2 separate regions of the Homo sapiens genome follow, and region 1 is linked to region 2. Evidence: promoter capture Hi-C in human tissues and cell types (Jung and others, 2019). All regions are on one chromosome and are shown on one strand. The core of a region is centred on a gene start or on the middle of the fragment in contact, and the rest is flanking DNA. Distances in the headings are between cores, read along the strand shown. Region 1 has its middle 34 kb from the start of PLCE1. Region 2 holds the start of PLCE1 (phospholipase C epsilon 1).

What was found. The method cuts DNA at HindIII sites, captures the fragments that hold promoters and counts their contacts. A contact is called where the count stands out against the background at its distance.
Region 1: a contact is called between a fragment that was not itself captured here and the fragment with the promoter of PLCE1 in region 2, in 3 of the 25 tissues and cell types used here (mesenchymal stem cells, mesendoderm cells and thymus).

The regions. Positions count from the first base shown.
Region 1 is chr10:93,956,312-93,962,596 of GRCh38, forward strand. It overlaps the pseudogene PIPSL. Among named protein-coding and RNA genes, the nearest start is that of PLCE1, 34 kb to the right of the region's middle. The HindIII fragment of the contact is 3,706 bases long and covers 224-3,929 here.
Region 2 is chr10:93,990,267-93,996,620 of GRCh38, forward strand. It overlaps PLCE1 (phospholipase C epsilon 1), which reads left to right and starts at 3,665. Exons shown (of 33, transcript NM_016341.4): 1 at 3,665-3,992. LOC105378438 (a long non-coding RNA gene) reads left to right here. Exons shown (of 4, transcript XR_946215.2): 4 at 2,954-3,453. RefSeq lists a silencer at 3,479-3,768. The HindIII fragment of the contact is 15,571 bases long and covers 1-5,824 here.

The DNA.
Region 1 (6,285 bases), core at 827-3,326, 36 kb before region 2:
GAGAATACCAAAGATTATGCCAACGTCTCTGGTTACTTTGGATTTGATTTATAAATAGAATTTTACTAAAGCTGGGACAATAAGGCTGCATTTAAGGGCATTTCTATCTTGCCAAACAAACATTGGGAGCTACAAAAGAAATCCAAAGTGTTCGCAGTGGATCGTTTAATTTACCTTCTGCTTAAAATAATGTATGGTGGCCACTATATTTATATAGTTGGAAAAAAAAGGAAAGTTAAGACTATAGATATATACTTTCTCTTTAAGAAAGAGAAATCATTTTTGACATATATTTTTGGAAAAGCAGGCACTAAACTGATGATCTCTTAGGAGAGTGGAGATGGGATTAATGGGAATGTTTATTCTCTTAATGTCCAAATTTTCTTTGTTGCTTTTTTTTAAAAAGTGGTGTTTAATTTTCTTTTTTCTTTTCTTTCTTTCTTTCTTTCTTTCTTTCTTTCTTTCTTTCTTTCTTTCTTTCTTTCTTTCTTTCTTTCTTTTTTTTGAGACACGGTCTTGGCAAGATCACAGTTCACCACAGCCTCCATCTGCCAGGCTCAAGTGATCCTCCCACCTCAGCCTCCCAAGTAGCTGGGACTACAGGCTCATGCCACGATGTCCAACTATTTTTTTTTACTTTTGGTAGAGATAAGGTCTCACCATGTTGCCCAGGTTGGTTTCAAACTCCTGAGCTCAAGCGATCCTCCAGCCTCAGTCTCCCTAAGTGCTGAGATTACAGGCATGAGCCACTGCACCAGCCAGCATTTAAGATTCTTATAACTAAATAGTACTTTTAAAAGAAAGAAAAGGACCAAATAATATCAGATAAATGTGGTCATACTGACCACTTGGTAATGGCCTGTTCAAGGCTGAAAACTTCTCCAATCGATCATTTCCATTCTTATTCGTCTAGTCTCAACCTATTTTCATTTCTTAATTGACTTGATTTTTCTTCAAAGATTAAATGCATTTGTTTCTTGTTGAACTCAGAATTTTCAGTTATTGTGCTTGTTTCAAAATGCTTTAAAATTAGTTCCTGCATTGTATTGAGAGACATATCAACTGAACTCTAAGGACTGGTGAGGTCTTGCAAGCCCACCACTGCTTTCATTTGTTTGCAAACCCCATGGGACTCCTATTTCCAAGTGCTGGCAGTAGACAGAGCTGGCAAAATTTTGTTCTGACAGACTACTTTATTCTTGTCAAGGAAAGTTTGTCAGTGGAAACTATGTCAGTAGAGGAGCTTCTGGAGAATTCCAGCATCAGGGGCACTGGGTTGTTATTTCTGGCTTGGCTGTAGAATGAACCCTGGGACTATAGGCAAGTCACTTAATCTTTTAAAGTCTCACCTGAAAATAAGAATAATACCATGATTCTGTGACTCAAAGATACACATTTTCCCTGCATTTTATTATTCCTGAAATGGAATGTGTCTAAATAAACTTGCCAGCTTCCAGGCCCAGTATGGATACCCCAGTATGAGATATAAGTAACATTTGTGAATGTAGGTGAACTTGGAGGGCTACATAGAAGGTATCTGCTTATTTGATATCACATGGGATGAGTGATTTGCATTGATAGCAGCACACATGTTTATTTGCATTTCATGTTAAATAAATCAAAATTTACATTTATTCTGATCAAAGCAAATCTTTGTCTCTGGAGGACTGAATAAATATTTTCCTATTAACAAGCAACAGCCTCTAATAACTGTTATTAAATTGTCATCCTCAACTGATGACATATTATAATCAAGGAAAAGGGAAAATAATACCAGCAGGCTAATGTTGAAGATTCAATAAGATTAAGCTCATAAAATGCTTAGCATAGTGCCTGGTGCATAGGACGCACTCAAGAAATATTGTCATCATTGTCATCATCATCATCACCACCATACTTTATAACATATTACTCAACAATTGCTTTCCATAGCCATATTTCATTCACAACCCCTGTGTAAGGAAGGCCGTAAAGTCTGATGCACCCAGAGACATTGGACAAGTCACTTAGTCTGAATAGTGGTTCTCAACTTTTGCTGAATTTCAGAATTACCTTGTGAGCTTTTGAAAAATATCAGTACCTGAGTCCCAGGCCAATTAAATTAGAATCTTTAGGGGTTGGGTCCAAGTATTTGAAATGTTATTAAAGCTTCCTGGTGATTTTAATGTGAATTATTTTATGTTAGTGGTTCTCAACCTTAGCTGCACATGAGAGATCACACAGCTCAGATGAAGCTCATCAGCATTTCAAGGGGTCAGATTTAGGCATCAGGATTTCTTTTCTTTTCTTTTCTTTTCTTTCTTTCTTTCTTTCTTTCTTTCTTTCTTTCTTTCTTTCTTTCTTTCTTTCTTTCTTTTTTTTTTGAAGCAAAGAAGGAAAAAATCTTGCCAAGCTTTATTTAGGCTATAATGATTACAGATAACACACATCTAACCCTATATTCCGTGCTTCCCATGCAGTCCCCTGAGCAGGCTCAGCTACCCTTTCCCTCCAGTCTCACTTCTTGTCTTCCTCCTTCTTGTCCTTCTTGCTGTCCTTGGTGGCCTGGGAGGCCAGGGAGCCCACAGCATTTCGAATGGCTTCATTGTTGGGATCCACACCTGGGAGGTTCTCTAGGACACTCTGAAGGAACTCAGGGTCTTGCATCACGTCGTAATCATCCTCCTCCTTGGCTGGCTCAGATGTGTCCATGGCTGAGCTGGCATCAATGTCTGCTGATTCTGCCAGGCCAAACTCTGCTCCCTGCAGGGACATCTGCATGGCACAAACAATCTTCTCTTCCTCAGTCATACTGCTTAGGTCAGGAAGCCCAGTGTGGCCAAACTCTTGCTGGCTGATGGTCATCTTCAGCAGGGCATCGTCTGAGTCTTCAGTCCCAGTCGTAGCAATCCCGGCCTCAGCAGCAGAAGCTGCAGCTGCCTGCCGGGCCTCCTCCTCCTGCCGCTGCCGCTGCTCTTCCATAAATACACGAAGGACCAAGGCCAGCTCAGGATCAGCACTGGGATCTACTCCAAATTCAAAGTCACTGGCACCAAGACCCATCATGGCACCACCTTCACCAGCCAAAATCGGAAAACTGATGAGAGCATCAGCCAAACTGGGCCCAGGAGGCACTGTCACCAGATGAGAACCGGTTCCATCTTTGCCATTCAACGTGTTTACAAAGGCTGTCAGCTTTTCTGTGTTCACCTCCTCTTCCCCAAAATTGATAATGTCAACATTTACTTTCTCCTTCTTGAGGCATTTAGCCAGTTTCACCAGATTCTTCTCATTGTCCTCCACCGGGTTTCCCACAAAGGCAATGATGCGGATCTTGTGATTGTTGCCTTGTCGGTGCTTCAGAGCCAGATGGGCCACGTGGATGCCCATGCAGAAGGTGATCTTGCCCTTGGGTTGGACAGTATGTAGCTTGGACAGGATACGGCCAGTGTCTGGGGTGAGTGTGGTCAGCACTTCACAGTCATTATCCAGTGTGATAAGGCCCACGTTGTTCTCAGGGTTGCTGCGGGTCTTTGAATGACAAACTGTGTTGACAGCATCCTGCTGGGCCTGCAGCCGGGTGGGTAAGAAGTCTCCATTCCCCATATACTCACTGTTGTCCACACTTGTAGTTAGCATTTGCAAAGTCTCTTCAACTAGAGGTGAGAAACTGGGGTCAGGAGTAGGTGAGCCCTCACTGATTTCCTCCAAAGGTGGAGTCTGAGGTAAAACATCAGGACAACCAAGGTGAACACCTGGCTCCACTTCCGCCTTTGTTGTCACTTGTGCCTTGTGTTCCCCAGAGACCAATGGCTGGTAAGTAATGCAGGAGTTGCCACTGGAGCCTGCTCGCTGAGAGAAAGATGAGCCAGACCGAAGTTTTTTGGAAGGAGAAGGCTTCAAGGGAATCTTCTTAAATACCGTGTTGCACATGAAGCGCTGGAACCATTCAGCATAGAAGCCTGGGCGATGCACTGAGACAGTGTCTCCGTCATGTATCAGGGCTTTCCAAGAGTGCTCCAACTTCTTAACAAACCTGTAAGACTGTAGAATGTCAATGATGCCAATATAAAGCAGAAGCCTTTCCCCTTTACTATTCCGGGCAGGGATGCCACCCATATGGTCATCGGTCTCCATGGTGCCACCCCGTCGAGCCTCTCCCTGGATGGATTCCATGGCTGTGGAATACAGAGCCTTTTGGGGGGCTGGTCTTCGAGTATCAACTGAGTATTGTGTTTCGCTGCTTAAGGGCTCTCGTTGTGCATGATCTATATTATGGATTGACATCAAGAGGCTATAATCCATTATCTTGAAGCTCTGCAGCACCAAACAGTCACGCTGCAGGGTCTTACAGAGAGCGTTGTGCACGTCAGCATCCAAAAAAAGACCATCAGGGATGTCTTGTAAGAAGTCTAGGTCTTTAAATGTGGGAAGAGGCTTCTCTCGCTCTTTCTGGGAAGCCCGCCGCCTGTAGGTTGAGCCTTTGAGGTCATATTTGATATGCATTTTTACCGATCTTGGTAAAAGATTGTTCATCACCACAATCCGAATGTTCTTGCCACCTGTCTGCACACAGTACAGTCCATAGAATTTAGGCAGCAAAGTCCGAGGGTTCTGGTTGAGGTTTATGTAGTATCCTGGAAGCAGCTTCTGCAGAAACTCCGCTTCTTTATGTCGGACTGTCTTAACAATGAACTCATCGTCGCTGGACACATAGAACAGGGAACCACTAGCTCCAGAGCTACAGAGTTCAATCAGCGGCTCACTGCAGAGGGAATACAAGTAATCATCGGGCCGGATACCAAATAGCTCCCAGAAGTAGCGGAAGGCAACAGGTGCATAGGTCTTGAAACGAAAGGCATTGTAGTGATGAGCAGGGGTCAGGTTGCTCCCTTCACTGGGAAAGAAGATACTCTCCACCATGTGGAAATCTTGCATGAGGACATCACTCTCTGGTTTGGTACTCAGGCTCCCCACAGTGTGGGTAATGCCTAACTGGATGGCACCTTTCAAGGCTGATGAGGTTGTCCCTCCTGAGGAATCAACACTTCTATGGCCTATTTTCTTGATGGGCATGCCAGAGGCATAAGGCACCTCAGATGCCATGGGACTCTTGATTCCAGATGCTGAGGACGAGGTACAGGAAGGGACCGCGGGATCAACGGAGAAAAACCGACCGAAGACAACGGCCCGGAGGAGGCCGACGCCATCTTGGCAGCCCCCTCCCCCTCAAGGGCCTGGCTCTCTTTCAATCCGGCTCTTCCTCTTCTCGGAATCGAATCTTCCCAATGTCTCTTTATAGAACCCACGTTCTGTGGGCCCCCTCCCCGCCCCCTCCAGGGCTCCCTCAGACAAGTCGAGCCGGCTGCTGGACCAGCTCAAGTCCACACCATTCGCCTGGCATGGGGGAGAACTCACGTCTCGCACCCCCTCCACAAGTTTAACTGCTTTCCACAGGGGATACTTTCCCCTTTCACAGAAGAGTAAGCTTAAGCTGGCTGCTGGGACCTTGCGTCCAGACCAAGCCACATCTGAAAAAAAAAACGAGGCATGAAAAGTCCCAGAGGAGCAAACGCCCCCTCTCCGTCCTCCCTAGCCACCGCCTGTTAATCGCCCAACCCGGCCAGGATTTCTTTTCTGAGTAGTGGATCCCATACATCAGAATCATCTGGGGCACTTGTAATTTAATCCAAACTCATGTGCTCCAGTCCCCCCAATTTTTATTTAAGTCTGGGGTGAGGGCCCTACAATCTGTGCTTTTAAAAAGTTCCCGTTTTTCTCTGGTATAGAGTTTGAGAATTGCCAGTCTAATAAGCCTCTGACTGGTGGTGATGGTTGCCAGTCTGATAAGGCCCCACCTCCAACATTGGGGATCATATTTTGATGTGATATTTGGGGGGGGGAATATCAAAACTATATCAGAGACTGTTCATTCAGCAAGCACTATAATGCTATTTACCTGCAGCACCTTACACTGTACCTGGCACACAGGAGATGCCCAGTGAATATTTCTGAATGGATGAAATGCCTGCTGTATTAGTCAGGGTTCTCTTAGAGGGACAGAACGAATAGGAGATATATATATATATATACATATATATATACTATATATATAATATATACACATATATATACTATATATATAGTATATATACATATATACTATATATATAATATATACATATATATACTATATATATAATATATATACATATATATACACAATATATATAAATATATGTACATATATATATAAAAGTTTATTAAGTATTAACTCACACAATCACAAGGCCCCACAATAGGCTG
Region 2 (6,354 bases), core at 2,415-4,914:
ATCCTCACAATTACGCTGAGGGGTACTGTATTAGTCTGTTCTCACGCTGCTCATAAAGCATACCCAAGACTGGGTAATTTATAAAGAAAAAGAGATTTAATGGAATCACAGTTCCACTTGGCTAGGGAGGCCTCACAATCATGGCAGAAGGCAAGGAGGAACAAAGTCACAGCTTACATGGCAGCAGGCAAGACAGAAAGAGCATGTGCAGGAAAACTCCCCTTTATAAAACCATCAGATCTCGTGAGACTTATTCACTGTCATGAGAACAGCATGGGAAAGGCCCATCCTCACGATTCAATTACCTCTCACTGGGTCCCTCCAACAACGGGGGAATTATGGGAACTACAATTTGAGATTTGGGTGGGGACACAGCCAAACCATATCAGGTAGGTACAATTTATCTAGAGGAAAATGAGGCACAGTGAGATAAGTAACCTGTCCGAGGGCTCACAACTTGGGGGTGGATCTGAGCATCCAACTCAAGTGGTCCCACACCAAATTCTGTTCCCCTAACACCGGCTGCGCTGAGAGAGGATGTTTAAGATCATCTTTCCCTGCTTTGCTTACTGTTCCCTGGGGACCCTCACTCCTAACCATGTCACACAGGTAGAGATACCTACAGCTTTAACAAGCTGGTTGTTTTTCATCAACCTCAAACTGCCTTAGTACATCTAACCTCACATACAAGACAACTCTAGGAAGTGTGTTTTTGGCTCTCTGCTCACCATCTGAACTTGCTAGTCTATTTGCAGACAGCTAGTAAGCCCGGTACAGTTTGATGCAGTGACTTTGAAAGGGAGAAAATGGCAACTGCAAAAGCTGAGGGCTGCCTTGTTCCTTCAGTCCTTCCTTGGCCTTTGTGCTACCCAGATGTCTGTTGGCAAATTCCTCTGTTTGACGATCAGCAGCTGTTTGACAAAGATCAATGCATTAGTCAATGGTGCCCACACTGACTACTCAGTTCCCAAACTAATGGTTTGTTTATGAACGGGTTAACTGATGGCTGGCTTGTTGAGTGTGGCAAAGCGCCAATCCTTCTTCTGTAATATGTGCAGTAGAGGGTGTGGGGCCTCTTGTTGGCAACCACCACCATGAAGTCAGAGACCACTGCCCCCACCTCCTTTCTGAAAATTACAGGATAGGGGAGGCAGAAAGAAAGAGGGAAGATGGTTCCGTTTCTTAAAATAATTTTACTACTTAAATTCCCTAGTCTCTATGTTTATCATGTATTTAAATCAATTTCCATTGACTGGAGACCAGTATGTAATGTAATAAGCTCAAAAGACATGTGTGTTTTCTTCTGAAATTTCAAACATAGATGCACTTTACTGAAATAAAGTCTCCACAGGATTGTTTCTTGGGGCTGTTGTTGTTGTCTATGCAGAATGGTCTTGTATAAAGAGATGCATAACTTAGTTTACTGAAGCTGAATTTTCCATGGAAATTATCCAGTGCTTTCCCAATTCTCAGGCGCTTTATCTGACAGTCTTTCTTCCTCTAGATAATGGCTGGCAGCAGCCCACAGAGTGGAGGTTATATGGTGCACTTCTGAAAAAGTCTTGAATGGAGCCATTGTTCCCCTGAGATGGTCTGTGTGTTTCACTGAACAGAGAGCAGGGTGTAAAAAAGGCACCTTGTGTGCAACTGTTGGCGAGGTTGGGGAGTGAATTAAAATCTCCAGAAAGTCTGGGCAGTGCTGTTCAGAGGAGCAATGAACACTCTGGAAGTACTGTTAGCTCAGACATTCCAATGTGGTGAGGCAGCCTCGGGGACACGACTTCCCTCCAATCTCGTTTAGAGAGGGAGCCATGGGGCGAGCAAAGGACACTGATCTGGACCTGCTCTCTTTGCAAAGATTTGAGGAAGGCGCCCCTTTCTAGGGATGGGGCCACAGTGATTATCACACTTGGATAACTTTCCTGCTCAACGGACCTAGATTTGCCTTGCTTACTAATCATGCAATGACTCATTTGGAGGATTCAATGTTAACTGCTTGTGCATCTACCAGTTTGTAGCTATCTATTCCCATGTGCCAAATTAAAAAAAAAAAGTCTTTGGGGGTGCCAGGTGATGGATGAAGTTTGATATTATTTGATCATTAAATGAATTATAAAACCATAATATAATACTGTATATTAAATAAATAGCCTACCTTGTTTATTGTCAGTGATGCTACCTCTTTCCTCAGCCCTTTATTTACTTGTTCAGGATAACATAGCCTCAGGGATTGAGTAAATTACCACTTCTCACTGTCCTAGTGCTAAAATGCCAAGATCTTAAGGAACAAAGAATTTCTTTAGAGCCCTCTGCAGAGACCTTTCTGAAATCAGCTCTCCAGGGAGGCAATCATGTTAGTTTTCATTAAAGTCCTAGTGGTGAGAAAACAGCAAGACAGTTTAAGGACCAGACTGGCAGATTTTTCTTAACAGCAGGATTCTTTGGGCCTCCTGTGCTTTCTTGCTCCAACCTCTCCTGTGTTCTGGAGCCTCCAAGAAGGAGAGATCACTTTTAAGAGGGACCCGAAAGAAAGGGTCAAACATGAGCAGGAGGAAAGTGTGTGGGAGGAGATGCTCCAGGTAGAAGGCTCAGCTTAAGTTCAGGTACAGAGCTAGAGTGGGAGAGACATTCTGTTGGGTGATCCTTATTAGCCAGGGCATGCTGGGTTACACAGCCATGGAGAGTTAGTTTGGAGGGCAATAGGGAGCCAGTGAAGTTTTCTGCATAGATTAAAGTTGTAAAAAAGGAAGAATAATACAGCGGTGGTTTGAAGGATTGATTTGGTCCAAGGGAGAGGACAGTGGGAGGCGATATGGGCCACAGGAATGGGTCCTGATCGGATGTAGGAGAAGAGGTCAGGCCTAGGGAACGGTCTTCCATTAGAACAGGTAGAGGGAGGAGGCACAGGTTTAGGCGAAAGGGAGGAGGATGATGATTTGATTTTTTTTTCCAGGTCCTTGGCTCTCCTAAGACTCATAAAAGCCGCTCCAGCGGCTAAGGAAGTTCTGTGCAAAGCCTGTAGTTTCTAGTTGTGAAGATCTTCAGGTTTGCTTGAGCAATGAAAGAGTACTGGATTTGGAGTCCGCAGTCCTGGATGGCCACCATTACCAGCAAAAGGAGTATTTCCGGAGCCTGGCACAACGCTGGGCACATTGATGGGGCTCAATGAATATGTATTAAATGAACGAGTGACAGAACAGATTCGAGACTTGGTGCTGCCATCTACTACAGAGACCTTGATCGTGTCCTTTATCTGCCGTGAACCTCAGTTTCCATATCTGTCAACCAGGGGTGGTTCCCTGGGGTAGTGTGAGAGTAAATTCCCGCCGCCTGAGGTGTGCAGAGTTCCCGCCCTTCCCGGAGCCGGGCGCCCCAGGAGCGCTCTCTCTGGCTCCCGCCAGAAAGGATGGCTCCTAGGGGTCAGGGCCAGGGGTCTGGGAAGGGGTCGCGCCGCCAGCAGCCAGCTCCGGGGGAGGCGGCCGGGTCCTCGCTCCGCGCCCGCCTTCCCCGCGCGGCAGGAGCCGGGGGCGGGCCCGGCACAGGCCGCTCCCCCGCCCGGCCGCCCGCGGTGGCGCTAGCGGCCTCTCACCCGGGGCGGGCGAGTTCTGGGAAAGCCCGGCCCAGGGCGGGGGCCCCGCTGCCGCCCGCGCAGCCGCCGCTGTCCGGGCAGCGCGCACATCTCGGCGGGAGCGGACTGTGAACGGCGCGGGTCCACACGGTAACGCTGGGCAACGTGGGCAACGCGGCGGGCGGCGGGCTCGCGCGGCGGGAGGGGCAGCGGCGGCGCGCCCGGGCTCTACCTCCCGGGCTCTGCCTCCCGGGCTCTGCCTCTCGGGCACTTGCCTGGCTCCTGCGCGTTCCTGGGCATCGGCTCTGCAGCTGACACACAGTAGCGGGGACACCCGACGCCGCTAGCGACAGGCGCGCGGACGGCTGGTCCCAGAGGGACGCTGCGCTTGGGGACGCCGGCGAGACTCGCCAGGAGCCAAGAGGTGAGGAAGCGACTCTGTAGCTCGGTTCCTGAGGACTGGAGAAAGGGAAGGATGGGCTGGTTCTCTCCCAAGGCAGTCGACCCGCCTAAGGGAGCAGCCCGACTCCGCGTACCTGGCGGAAAAGTGTCCTCGCGCTCCCGGGGGACCCGAGGCGGGCGGTCCTCCAGGGCATGCAGGCCGCCCTCGCAGGGGCTAAAGGACACCCTGCCAGTGCCTTCACTCCAGACGCCTGCCTCAGGTCGCCCCTTCGTGTTGTGAATACGGTGTGGAGGTGGCCAGTGCAAAGAAAAACGTAAGCTCTTTTTGTGGCGGTACTTAGCAGCGGTATTTCAAGGAAAGTGCTCAAGAGATTGTTCCTGGAGAGATTTGTGTACATCAAGTCCTAGAAAATACAATATTGGACCAGGTCCCGCTCTAACTGATAACTAGAATAGCTAGCTTTGCCTTCAAGTCCTTTAATGCTACAGTAATAAATACACTAGAGCAAGAAGTCTTCTGTCGTGGCGAATGTTAGGTGCACAGCGTAAATTTGTGGAAGCTTTCGCCCCTCGCTCTGTATTTAAGCCATCAGACACTGAGTTCAGCCGACTTAACCAATTATTCAGTGTAAGACTCATTTAGTGATTAATCAGTGTCATTTTAAATAGTGAGTTCCCTGAATACCTGTTAAGTAGGATTCACGTCTTCGAAAAGTTTTATTTGCACGAAGGTCATAATTTCAGTTGCATTATGCAAAATTTGCCCGTAGGTCTTTTAGATCTCTGCAGGATTGGTATGTTTTCATGTTTCTTATACCCCCCGTAGAGGTAGGGCAGGGCCGCTGCCACAGAATGGGCACTACTGAGGCCAAGAATGCTTGACCCCACTAGGGAGAATTTTTGAGAGCCTGACTTGGGAGGTGGAAGCAGGTGACCCCATAGGTGCTTGTACAGGTGCCCAGTTGTCATTGAGGAGAGAGGTGGACTATCTCTAGGTTATTGTATGCATCGATGTCTTCATAAATACTTTTCTGAAGAATGTCTGATGGTGTTGTCATCTAGACCATCTGATGGCACATCTTCCCCCACATCCACCACTCTAAAGTCTAACCATCCTTCAAACTGTGTTTTGCTGGTGGTGTGAGGCTTTTCCTGAAACAGCCAACCTCCCCCTGCTCTGATTTCTGCAGCATTTTTTCTCCAGGGCCCTTTCTGCTCTCTACCTTCTGGGAGTTATTTATGTAGATGTCTCATTTTCCCTACTGAAGGCATTTGCTGTGGCTTTCATGGCAAAATGCTTGCACCTAGAAGACTCTAGAGATAATTGTGGGCCAGTATTAAATCTTAAGACTTTGGTTTTACAACATAAATATCTACTTTGGAGAAGGAGATAATATAATTGAAAGGAGCTAGAGGAATGTATAATGTTTACCATTAACACTATCCTTTATTTACAGCCCCATGGGGGAAATTCCCTTTATACCCAGGAGCCATGTCTTACCAGGTAAGAAGCCAGATTGAACTGGAGGGACATTCTTCCAGTCCTCTTAGTAACATAAACTCCTGGGATGTGGTCCAAGTTTGACCTGTCATTAAAAATTCCATACTCCAGTGGGTTAGAAGCTAGATTCCAATGAAGGCGGTTGGTTTTGTTTTTCTATTTACAACCATTCTTAGTCACATTCTTCTCTGGGCTTTTGTTGTATACTTTAAAAAAACTGTTTGATGTGCAATTTGTTACCTGTAACTTTCTAAATGAATAAAAGAAGATTGAAAAAATACTGTGCATGGTGGAAGAGTTTTCTAAAGTAGACAGCAGGGGACGTTTCCCATGCCTGGGCAAGAGGAGGGATTTGCACAGAGTGAGGCTTGCTGCACGTGTGTGTGTGTGTGTGTGCGCGCGCGTGTGTGTTCCACACACCTGGCTGACAGGCGCCTATATAGGACAGTTGCTTTAGTCTTAATGCCTTCTCTCTCTGCCGGAACTACTTCTGCGGTGGAAGAACAATAAAACAGAGCTTCTGGGTTCAGAAGGAGAAGCAGAGGAAAAGCCAAAAACAGTAGAAGCAGCTAAGAGTGTGAATTTGTTTGCTGAAGTTGCTTTCCTCCCAACGTTCAGTTGAGATCTGTGGCATTGAGCAAGTAGGGGTTTGGTTGAGGCGAGGGAAGACAGGTGATTAGGAAACATGGTGCTTCTGGAAGAGGGGTGGAAGGTTCTGATAGGGTTTTAGGGAAGCATGTGATTTAGTTATGTAAGGCCCAAAGAGGAGAGTTGGAGATGGAGGAGTAGGGAATGGAGAAAGAGAGGAAGACGATATCAAAGATGCATTTTGTTATAGGCCAACCATGTGGCCTACAAAGAAGGGCAGAACTCTCTCTAGCAT